4 separate regions of the Homo sapiens genome follow, and regions 1, 2 and 4 are each linked to region 3. The links are contacts of gene promoters, found by promoter capture Hi-C in human tissues and cell types (Jung and others, 2019). All regions are on one chromosome and are shown on one strand. Each heading gives the region's core, a stretch centred on a gene start or on the middle of the fragment in contact. The rest is flanking DNA. Distances are from core to core; before and after follow the strand shown. Region 1 overlaps SCAPER (S-phase cyclin A associated protein in the ER). Region 2 overlaps SCAPER (S-phase cyclin A associated protein in the ER). Region 3 holds the start of ETFA (electron transfer flavoprotein subunit alpha). Region 4 overlaps SCAPER (S-phase cyclin A associated protein in the ER).

What was found. The method cuts DNA at HindIII sites, captures the fragments that hold promoters and counts their contacts. A contact is called where the count stands out against the background at its distance.
Region 1: a fragment that was not itself captured here is called in contact with the fragment with the promoter of ETFA in region 3 in 1 of the 25 tissues and cell types used here (mesenchymal stem cells).
Region 2: a contact is called between a fragment that was not itself captured here and the fragment with the promoter of ETFA in region 3, in 1 of the 25 tissues and cell types used here (dorsolateral prefrontal cortex).
Region 4: a contact is called between a fragment that was not itself captured here and the fragment with the promoter of ETFA in region 3, in 3 of the 25 tissues and cell types used here (mesenchymal stem cells, mesendoderm cells and thymus).

The regions. Positions count from the first base shown.
Region 1 is chr15:76,664,071-76,666,774 of GRCh38, reverse strand. It overlaps SCAPER (S-phase cyclin A associated protein in the ER), which reads left to right. Exons shown (of 32, transcript NM_020843.4): 21 at 986-1,122. Among named protein-coding and RNA genes, the nearest start is that of MIR3713, 79 kb to the right of the region's middle. The HindIII fragment of the contact is 5,919 bases long and covers 1-2,704 here.
Region 2 is chr15:76,645,889-76,648,588 of GRCh38, reverse strand. The region is part of intron 21 of SCAPER (S-phase cyclin A associated protein in the ER); the gene reads left to right. Among named protein-coding and RNA genes, the nearest start is that of MIR3713, 61 kb to the right of the region's middle. The HindIII fragment of the contact is 3,243 bases long and covers 1-2,700 here.
Region 3 is chr15:76,310,083-76,312,782 of GRCh38, reverse strand. ETFA (electron transfer flavoprotein subunit alpha) reads left to right here and starts at 1,314. Exons shown (of 12, transcript NM_000126.4): 1 at 1,314-1,433. The coding sequence starts at 1,395. RefSeq lists enhancers at 692-741, 802-851, 1,061-1,561, 1,562-2,062. The HindIII fragment of the contact is 24,969 bases long and covers 1-2,700 here.
Region 4 is chr15:76,614,387-76,617,086 of GRCh38, reverse strand. All of the region lies in intron 22 of SCAPER (S-phase cyclin A associated protein in the ER), which reads left to right. Among named protein-coding and RNA genes, the nearest start is that of MIR3713, 29 kb to the right of the region's middle. The HindIII fragment of the contact is 9,427 bases long and covers 1-2,700 here.

The DNA of each region.
Region 1 (2,704 bases), core at 135-2,634, 350 kb before region 3:
TTCCTTAATCAAATAAACATAGTCATGAACTGAGAGATGGGGTTAGGAGATGACGGATATTGGAGATTTAAGGAGAGAGTCTAAAATAATTTTTAGCAAGGCAAGTGTGTAGATTAACTAATGTAAAGTTGCTTGACTGCCTGGGAATACTAGAGGCCACTTGAGGTGTAATTTCATAAATTTAAAGTTTGTAATTATAGCCACATTAATCTGCTTCAGACATAGGCTCAGAATAGGGAGAGAGTTGGATTTAGGATTGGGATTTTGCCATGCATGTATGAAAGAAGAAAGGGGGAAAAGAGTTGAGCACAGGCAACAGAATGATTATAGTGATAGGCCATAAAATCTAAGATGGATAAGGAGGGGAACTTGACCAAACACTATGTGCTCTTGCTGAACCAAAGTTTTGCTGTGGATACCCACATTCCACTTTCTCATCTCTAGGATGTGTTTTCTGAGATGACCTTCTTTTTCCTTCCTGCAGCCTCACCCTACTCACAGGCCAAATATACTTACCTAATATCCGTATGTTCACATTTTATCCTTTCTTCAAGGGATAGCAGATATGGTGCTTCCTTGCTGAAGTTTCCCCCTCTTCCGCCTAGTGAACAGTGATCTTGTTTCCCTCTTCGGGTTCTTAACGGCACTCTAAATCTCTGATTGGCTTGGTATTATAGATGATATTATAGTTTTGTGAATATATTTTACCTTTCCTACTCTACTTGTGTGATATCTTGGTAGGGTTTATGTCCATGTAGCCTTAGCATTGGCACAATTGATATGCAATGAAGTGAAGTCAGTGATGTAAAATCCTTAAGTAAAACAGTTTCTTCAACGTTTTCCATAACAATTGTAGAAACCAGTGTATTACGGAGATTACTTTTAGTTTCATCAAATGTCTTAAACTCACTGTAGTCTATAGCAATCCTATATTATATTTAAATGATCATCCTCATTATTATTATTTTATTTATTTATCTTGCAGGAGCATCTTTCCTTGAAGAAGTACATTATTGACATTGTGGTTGAAAGTACAGCTCCAGCAGAAGCTTTGAAAGATGGAGAAGAGCGGCAAAAAAATAAAAAAAAAGCCAAAAAGATAAAAGCCCGGATGAACTTCAGGTACCTTAAATACCCTTAAAAGCAAAAGAAAAACTTTTAGTGATGTATCTTTTAATGTAAATCCAAGGAAGACAAAAAAAGTTTAAAGTTGTTTGCTTCATGAAAGCCTTGGAAATAACACTGATGAGCCTAATTTATAGCCACTTTCCTTGATTGAGAAAGAAAACTGCATATCGATCTAAAGCCCTTGCTTTCACCTGTTAAGAGCTCTTCTTATAATTGGATGCCAAAGCTCTGCCAAACTTGTGCCTCCTCCAGCATACAATAGTATGTTTAAGTATGTGTAAACCAAGCCTATTTTTCTTTCCAACTATTGATTTTTAAATGAAGTATCAAAGAAAATCAATAGCAATCAACAAATAGAAGTCTACTGGCTGTAGTGTCAAATCCCATGACTAGGCTTAATCAATTTGGTTGCCTGTCACAACAAGAAAAAGTTCAAGAAATATCTTAAAATGGAAAGTGAGTTGTCAGACCTGTAGTTTATCATCAGCCTCCAAAGTGTCATCTGAAGATCAGACAGCTGTGTAGTACATCATTACCTCACAAGCTTTGAGTGTCATCTGATGACGGATGAGTCCGGTTCGAGGACACAGAGATAGCTCTGCTTTAGCAGATAATCCTTTGCTATTCAAGGGCAACTATTCTGAATATGTCCGTATACTTTTACTACTAAGTGTCTCAAAGATGGAGAAGCTTGACCCATGGGATTATAGGAATATAGAACGTACAATAATAGTGAACAGTGCAGTTATCTCTCTGTAGTTTCAGTGTTTAGATAATGATCAATCTAGGTGTCTATTTCAATTTACATAATCAATGATAACTTCAGAGTGCTCATTTAATCAAAGAATAGAAAAGGCTTTTTTGATTTTAGTTTTTGAAGTTAGTCCAGATTTCTCAGAATAGTTTTACGGTGTATTTTAGAGCATTACTGACCTTCATTTCTAGTTTATCCTGAGAACTTGCAGACCTCTTGATACTTTTGAATGTTTTAAGGGCCTGTTTTTTGAACCTGTCTATTTTTAATGTTCACATTCTCTTGGTGAGCTCCCTGGTTCTGCGGCTATAAATACCTCTACTTGCCAATGACTACCAATTTTATATCTTCAGCTTTACTCAAACTTAGTATGTCCAAAACAAACCTGCTCTTTCTTCTTGCCACAAAAACCTACCTCATTTCATAGTCTTCTCTATATCAGCAAATGAATACTTTATTCTAGTTGCTTAGGCCAAAACCATTAAAGTCATCCTTGATCTGTCTTTCTCCTACACCTCACATCCAATCTAACTGCAAATGTTAGCTTTGCTTTAAAAATATATTCAGAATTTGACAACGTCTCTCTAACTTCACTGCTTTCCCCTGATCCAAAGCTTCAGTCAGCTCTTACCTGGATTGTTATAGTAGCCTTCTGACTAGTCTTGTTTCTGCCCTTGTATATTCTAAACACTGCAGCCACAACAGACCTGCTAAAATGTAAGTCACAGCCTGTCGCTGCTCTTGTCAAAACCTCAAGGATTTTATAGTTCAGGTTTCCTCTTCCTAGAAGGTTCTTCTCACATACATCCATACAGCTGGCTT
Region 2 (2,700 bases), core at 63-2,562, 340 kb before region 3:
GTTGGGAACACTTCTTGTTATGGTTTCCTTTGTGTTTATTCTGTTTGATATTCATTTAGCTTTTTGAATCTGTGAGTTTATATTTTACCCCAAATTTGGATAAATTTTAGCCATTGTTTCTTGAAAAAGTTTTTTCTGCCTCAGTCTATTTTTCTTCTATTTTCTGATTCCAGTTGTACTTAATACAGAACATTTTATATTGTCCCATAGGTCAGTCTTTTTTCTCTCTAGTTTAGATAGTTCTGTGTCCTATGTGATCTTTTTTTTCTACTGTGTCTCATTTGCTTTTAAAATCATCCAGTGACGTTTTTATTTCATGTGTTATATTTTTCATCTCCAGGAGTTCCATTTGGTTGATTTTATAGTTTCAGTTTCTCGATATTTCTTGTTTTTTTTTTTATGTTTTCATTTAATATGTTTATGAATTGACTTGAAGTCCATTATATCTGTCATTCCTTTTCACGCTGATTTTTCTCCGAGTATGGCTTATATTTTCTGCCTTTTATGCTTAGTAATTTTGTTATTAGTATTTTATTTTTTTCATATATTGGACAGTATAAATGCTACATTGCTCTATGTCTGGGTTTTATTGTTTTCTTTAAGAGAATGTAGAATTTAATTCTGTAATGCATTTTTTAAACTTGTACGTTTGCTTTTGTCTCTGAAAATACGGTTTTAAACTTTGTTTGACATAGAGTAACCTTTAATCCTAGGGCTCTATTGTTCCTCCTTCTAAGGTATGTCCTTTGTGAACTCTCTACAGAATGACTAGGATGTTCAATGAGTATCCTCAAATATGACAGCTGAAATGCAAACATTTCCCAGCTTTATGAAAGCTCCAGTAATTGTTCTTGTTCAGCTTACAGTTCCTGGATAGTTATTTTTTCCCCAGTTTTGGAGATTCTTGCCTGCTCATTCAGCAGATTAACATGGCCAGAGACTCAGTGGGGCCTCTCTGAAGATTTGTAGACCTTCTCTGCATACATCTTTTCACTCTGCTACTCTGCCCCACAAATTCCAACTTTTTCTTAGCTCAGACTTACATGTATGCTCTGTTTTGGTTACTTAACCCTTCCCCGATATGTAGCTATCTGGAAAGTGCCTTCAGGCACAAAGGGTGAGACAATCATAGGACTTATTTCACTTGCTTTCTTTTTCTGAGGGATTCCAGTCCTGTGCTGACAGTTGTCCATACATGAAAAAAAATCATATATTTAAGAATTTCTAAGTTGCTTGTAGTAGAAAGGACAATATGATACTAGTTACTCAATCATGGCTGGAAGCAAAAATTGTCAAGGCCTTAATAAAATAATAACCTCCACTTCAACCGTCTCTTTTCCCAACTTAATTTTTTACCAATGCACTTAACCATCATCTAAAGTACTGTGTATTTCAACTGTTTATATATTTACACATTAGCTTTCTCCTACTAGGATATAAATTTCAAGAGGATTTTTGTTTTTAGTTTTCTGCACATGGTAGGTGTCCAGTAAAAATTTGTGGAAGAATTAGATGAGATTGGATTGTGAGCTTTGTGGTTCTTATCACTAAGATTTCTTTGGCCTTTTAAGAAGGGAGAAACAAATTGCATATTACTATCATAAATTGGAATTCAGGCTCAAGGCATGATGGTCTGCCCCAGGTTTCATGATACAGGTAGTGAAGATAATGCTTTTAGGACCTGACTCAAGATGAATTAAAACTAAAGATACTTGATTTTTCTCCAAGCAGTGGGATGAGGGAAATGTTCTACAGGCAAAGCCAGAACTAGCATATATTTTAAACTGGATATGTGTTCTAAAATTAATTAGTAGGGACCTATATAACCTATATGTGATGAAGAACTGTGAGAGTACATGTGGTTGCTTGAAAGTTTTGATAGGCAGATTTAATTTGGAAAAGGAGTCGCTGTGAGTCAGAACTTTGCTGCTGCAATTTAGGTTGAAAGAATTCATAGTTTGGCAAAGAGGACTAAGAAAAGCAAGATAGGCAATAAAGTTCTAATCATTGGACTGTGTTTTTGTACAGAAGGATGAAGATAAAGGAACTAGATTTGTGTAATATATTGCCATTGAGCTGCAGTTTGTGTAGAGGTAGAAATAGGAGAGGAGAGAGAGCTGAAAGAGCAGCATGGGAATTCATAGTTTTTCACTGTATAATAGCTGGACCTCTGTCTGCAGTATTAGCAGCTTGGACATCAGCTTCAGTGTCCAGTGGTAATCACTAGGCTAATAGACTTCCTATTTTTAACAATAATTGACTATCAAGAACATATTCTGAAATGGGGCAGAGAGAGGAATGAGAGGATGGGGGGTGCGTGTGTGTGTTTGTGTATCTACATTCAGAGTTAACCCTTAGTATCTGTGGGTTCCACGTGCGGAGCCTGCAGATATGGAGGGCTAACTGTACTATGTCTTTTTATATAAGGGACTTGAGCATTTGCAGATTTTGGTATCCATGGGGATCCTGGAACCAATCCTTCGTGGATATTTAGATATAAATTTAGATATGGATAAACACACAGGTCTGTGTTAAATTTACATTGGTACAAGAATTGACATAGCGTCAATTTTTGTGTTAGAATTGACCAGAGAGCCTGACCGTGGAGTAGGATACCTAAGTTGAACAGAGGAGAGGCAGGGAAAGACATAAGTTTTAACAAATATTACAGGATTCTGACAGAACTTTGAGGTGAAATCT
Region 3 (2,700 bases), core at 65-2,564:
AAAACTCTGAGAGGAGCAGGCTTGTGTGCTCAAGAAGGCCTATGTATCTGGGGAACAGTGAGAGAAGAGGGCAGTGGGAGGAGAGGGAGCCACCATAGGGCTTTGAGCAGAGGTCATGATCAGTCCATCAGTTTGGAGAAGAGGCTTCTGGAAACATGGGCAGAAACAGAAAGACCAGTTAGGAGGCTTTGCAATGATCCAGGCGAGAGAGGACAGGGTCCTGAGTGAAGGTGATACCAGCAGAGGAGCAAAGGGGTGTTGGAGGATATTGCTGGATTCTGGTTATCTTTTGAAGGTAGAGTCAACGGGATTTGTTGATAGACTAGATAACATTGGAAAGGTAGGTTGTTGCTGAATTGGGAATTGAGACAATTTCTGAACATACCACTTCCCTCTTAAAAATTTCGTGTTAAAGTCCAGACTCATTAGCAGTCATTTATTCATTTGCTTATTCATTCAACACATACTGATTGAATGCCTAGTATGGACCAGGCATTGTGCTAGGTGTTGCAGGTAGACACAAAATTTAAAAGTAGGGCATACTGGCCGGGCGCGGTGGCTCACGCCTGTAATCCCAGCACTTTGGGAGTCCGAGGCGGGCGGATCACGAGGTCAGGAGATCGAGACCATCCTGCCTAACACTGTGAAACCCCGTCTCTACTAAAAATACAAAAAAATTAGCTGGGCGTGGTGGCGGGCGCCTGTAGTCCCAGCTACTCGGGAGGCTGAGGCAGAAGAATGGAGTGAACCCGGGAGGCGGAGCTTTCAGTGAGCTGAGCTCGCGCCACTGCACTCCAGCCAGGGTGACAGAGGGAGACTCTCTCTCTCTCAAAAAAAAAAAAAAAAAAAAGGGCATACTTTCTGCCCTTACAGATCTTCAGTCAGATGGGTGACACAGACAAGTACTTAGGTTATTACAACCCATGTGACAATTGCTACCATGGGGAAATACAGGGGGAAATAGGGGCATATAGGAAAGGTATCTAATTGGAATTGGCAAGGCTCCACTCGTACCTTACCCCGAGGTCAGCTCAGTTTTGAAGTTCACTCTAGCAGTGCTGACCATTGCGGGGCTGTGAGACAGTACAGTCTGAGCTCGGTCATCAGCGGGTGGCCAGCTTTGTCTCTGCCGCTCCGCGGCCCGGGCTTACTCGAAGGTCCCCGGGGAATAGCCTCACCTTTGCCCCACTTCCCAGTCTAGCCCCTAACTTCCCGCCGTCTATTGGCTGCGCAGCCGCCCAATGGGCAGGCGGAAACCGCGGGCTCGTGCTCCCGGCCTAGGGCGTCTTATCTCGTTCGCGCGTCTCGCGAGCATTAGGTGACTGGCTGAGGCGGCGCCAGTTGGCCGGGCACGGGGCTGCTGTAAGGCCGAGGTTGCGGCGGAAGCGGAGACCATGTTCCGAGCGGCGGCTCCGGGGCAGCTCCGGCGGGCGGTGAGTCCGGACTGGGAAGGCGAACCCAGGGACGGCCCCCCGTCAACCCGCCGTCCCTATGGGGTCTTGCAAAGATCACTGGCCCCCTCAGATTCGACCAGCCCTCGCGCCCGCAGGCCGGTCCCCGCCTGGGACTTGGGTCCAAAGTTCTGGGGCCTACCCTGGACTCCCTGCGGAACGCCAGTTCGGGGCAGAAGTCAGAGGTTTGGGGTCAGGGTGACCCCGAATGATGTGAATTTGCGCGTCTGCTGCCCCTTCTTCTGGCCCACTCTCTGCCCTGCCGTTTCCCACCTTTGTCGGTCACTCTGGGCACTTTCGGGCCGCCAGGTCCTCCACACTTGCTCCACACCCGAGGGAGCAAAATGTCACCGGGGAATGCCCTGTTGGGGAAAGTTTCAAACCTAGATTCCTCCCGGAGGCCGGCATTTCTGGAAGAATTAAACACTTTGGGCGCATCGTGGCTACTCCGACCCACTCACTGTCAAGGGCGGGGGTGGGGTGGGGTGGGAGGCTGCGTGGCCAGTTATGGAAGCTGGTTCTGCTTTCTGGTTTATGGAGCAGGGCTGAATTTAGGTGATTGTATTTGTAAAACCTGCGATCCGATTTGACAGCTTTAGCCAGTTTTGAAAGGCAGACGTCTTTTTATATGCTTCAGGCTGACCTGCTTTTAACCAGCAGATTGTAGATTAGGTTAACTGGTGACAGTGGTACATTTTCAGTGTTTCATTAGTGACAAACCACATTTCTCTCTTCTGTTGTGAGAAGGACTGATAGGAAACATATTTTCCTTCTCATGCTGTGGGAAAGGAGTATTTGGAGACTGACCAGTCACAAGTCAAGTAACAATAATTTATATTGTGGATTGTGTAGTTTTCCTAGTTTACATTTAGGTGAAATGAGAAACAAGATTGGTAAACTTGGGTCAGAAACTTACCTGATGGTTTGTACCTTTTCTCCTTTTTTTTTTTTTTTTTTTTTTTCTGGGCATGGATATTTTCCCATCCACTCCTGGGATTTTTCTCTCTGAGGCATAGCTGGAGCTCTTTCTAGATGTCTGTAGACATTAGACTTTTGTTTGTTTGTTTGTTTGTTTGTTTAAGAGACAAGGTCTGGCTCTGTTTCCCATGCTGGAGTGGAGTGCAGTGGCACGATATGGGCTCACTGCAACCGTCGCCTCCCAGGTTCAAGCGATTCTCCCACCTCAGCTTCCCGAGAAGCTGGGATCACAGGTGCGCATCATCACGCCTGGCTAATTTTTTTTTTTTTT
Region 4 (2,700 bases), core at 129-2,628, 300 kb before region 3:
ATGATAAAGAGCTCATGTAATATATAAATCAATACCTTGTATAAATTAATATGAGCAAGATCATTCATCAGTAGGAGAAAATATTGGATATGATCAGATAATACAAGGAAAAGGAAGTTAAAAGTGCCCAATTTGTTTTACTTTTGAAATTCCAAACTACTTAATTGGATTTTTAAAAATTATGTTTATAGACATTTTAATGCTGTGAGGAAATGCTTATGATGATTGAAAACTTGTAATTTTGATACAGTATGAGCTTTTTACATTAAAATGATAGAGGCCCAAAAAGGTAGTAATGCTACTTAAATTCAAATTTCCATATACATCTTCCTAAAAACTATATATATCAACAAGGAAAGCAAATTAAGTCATCAGTACTTCATATCTATACTATATTTAGGAGACATAGATGGCTACGACTGTACTTTTTTTCATTTTTTAAAATGGTGATGAAATACATATAGCAAAATTTACTATCTTACTCATTATTAATACAGTTTAATGATATTAAATACATTCATATTGTTGTGTAGCTATTACATCATCCATCTCCAGAACTATTTTCATCTTATAAAACTATAACTATACCCATTAAACAATAATTTCCCATACCTCCTGTTCCTAGCACTTGGCAACCACCATTCTACTTTCTATTATTATGATTTTGACTACTCTGGGTAACTCATGTTAAGTGTAAATATACAGTATTTGTCTTTTTGTGATAGGCTTATTTCATTTATCATAATATCCTCAAGATTTATCCATGTTGCACCAAGGATAAGAATATTCATCCTTTTTAGGGCTGAATAATACTCCACTATATGTGTTGCTTATCCATTAATCTGTCATTAGACATTTGGATTGCTTCCACTGTTTAGCAATTATGAATAATGCTGCTGTGAACATGGGTATACAAATATCTCTTTGAGTCCCTGTTTTTAATTATTTTCTGTATATATCCAGAAGTAGAATTGCTAGATCATATGGCAAATCTATTTTTAATATTAATATATTGAGGAACCAGCACACTGTTTTCCACAGTAGCTATACCATTTTTTACATTCTCACCAGCTCTGCACAAGAGTAACAATATCTCCATGTCCTCACCAGTACTTGTTATTTTCTGCTTTTTTTGATAGTAGCCATCCATATAGTTGAGATAGTATCTCATTTTAGTTTCGGATTGCATTTACCTAACGATTAGTGATGTTGGACATCTTTTCGTGTGCTTTTTGGACATTTGTATATTCTTTTTTTTTTTTTTTTTGAGATGGAATCTCGCTCTGTTACCCAGGCTGGAGTGCAATGGTGGGATCTCACCTCACTGCAACCTCCAGCTCCCGGGTTCAAGTAATTCTCCTGCCTCTGCCTCTCGAGTAGCTGGGATTACAGGTGTGTGCCACCGTGCCCAGCTAGTTTTTTGTATTTTTAGTAGAGATGGGGTTTCACCATGTTAGCCAGGATGGTCTCAATCTCCTGACCTCGTGATCTGCCTACCTCGGTGTCCCAAAGTGCTGGGATTACAGGTGTGAGCCACCGTGCCTGGCCTCATTTGTGTGTGTGTGTGTGTGTGTGTGTGTGTGTGTGTGTGTGTCTGTGTGTGTGTGTATGTATATATACACATACAGACACATTTGTTTTTGAGATGGACTCTTGCTCTGTTGCCAAGCTAGAGTGCAGTGGCGCGATCTCAGCTCACTGCAATCTCTGCCTCCCGGGTTCAAAGGATCCTCCCACTTCAGCCTCCCAAGTAGCTTGGGACTACAGGAGTGTGCCACCAACTCGGATAATTTTTGTAATTTTTTGTAGGGAGGGGGTCTTACCACGTAGCCCAGGCTGCTTTTGAACTCCTGGGCTCAAGCAATCCGCCCCCCCTCAGCCTCCCAAAGTGCTATTACATCTTCTTTAAATGCTTGGTAGAATTCACCAGTGAATCCATCAAGTCCAAGGCTTTTCTTCAACGAGAGATTTTGATTACTGATCTACTTAATTGTATGTCTTTTAGGTCTTCTATTTCTTCATCATTAGATTTTGGCATATTTTGGGTTTCTAGGAAGTGGTCTGTTTTGTGTAGGTTATCCAATTTAGTGCCATACAGTTGTTAATAGTACTCTCTTTGAATCCTTCTTATGTATTCATAAGTAGTAAGATCAGTAGTAATGTGCCCACTTTCATTTCTGAATTTAGCAATTAGTATCTTTTCATAGTCAATCTAGCTAAAGGTTTGTCAGTTTAGTTTGTCTTATGGAAGAACCAGCTGTTGGTTTCATTGATTTTTCTCTATTTTAAAAAATTCTGTTTCATTTATCCCTGTACTAGTCTTTATTATTCTTTCTGAAGGAAATAATAAAGCTTTGGGTTTAGATTTTTCTTCCTTTTCTACTTTGTTAAATATAAATGTTTATAAATGTCCCCCTTCTTTCACTGTGTCTCATGCATTTTGATATGTTGTGCTTTCATTTTCATTTGTCTGTATTTTCTGATTTTTCTTTGACTACTTTTGTGATTCATTGATTGTGTAAAAATGCGTTATTTTTCACAAATTTGTGAATTTTTCAGGTTTGTTTTTTTGTTACAAATTTCTAACTTCATCCTGTTGTGGTCAGAGAATACACATTGTATGACATCTATCTTTGTGAATCTATTGAGTCTTCATTTGTTTGTTTTTGTTTTTGTTATTTGTTTTTTAACTTTTAAGTT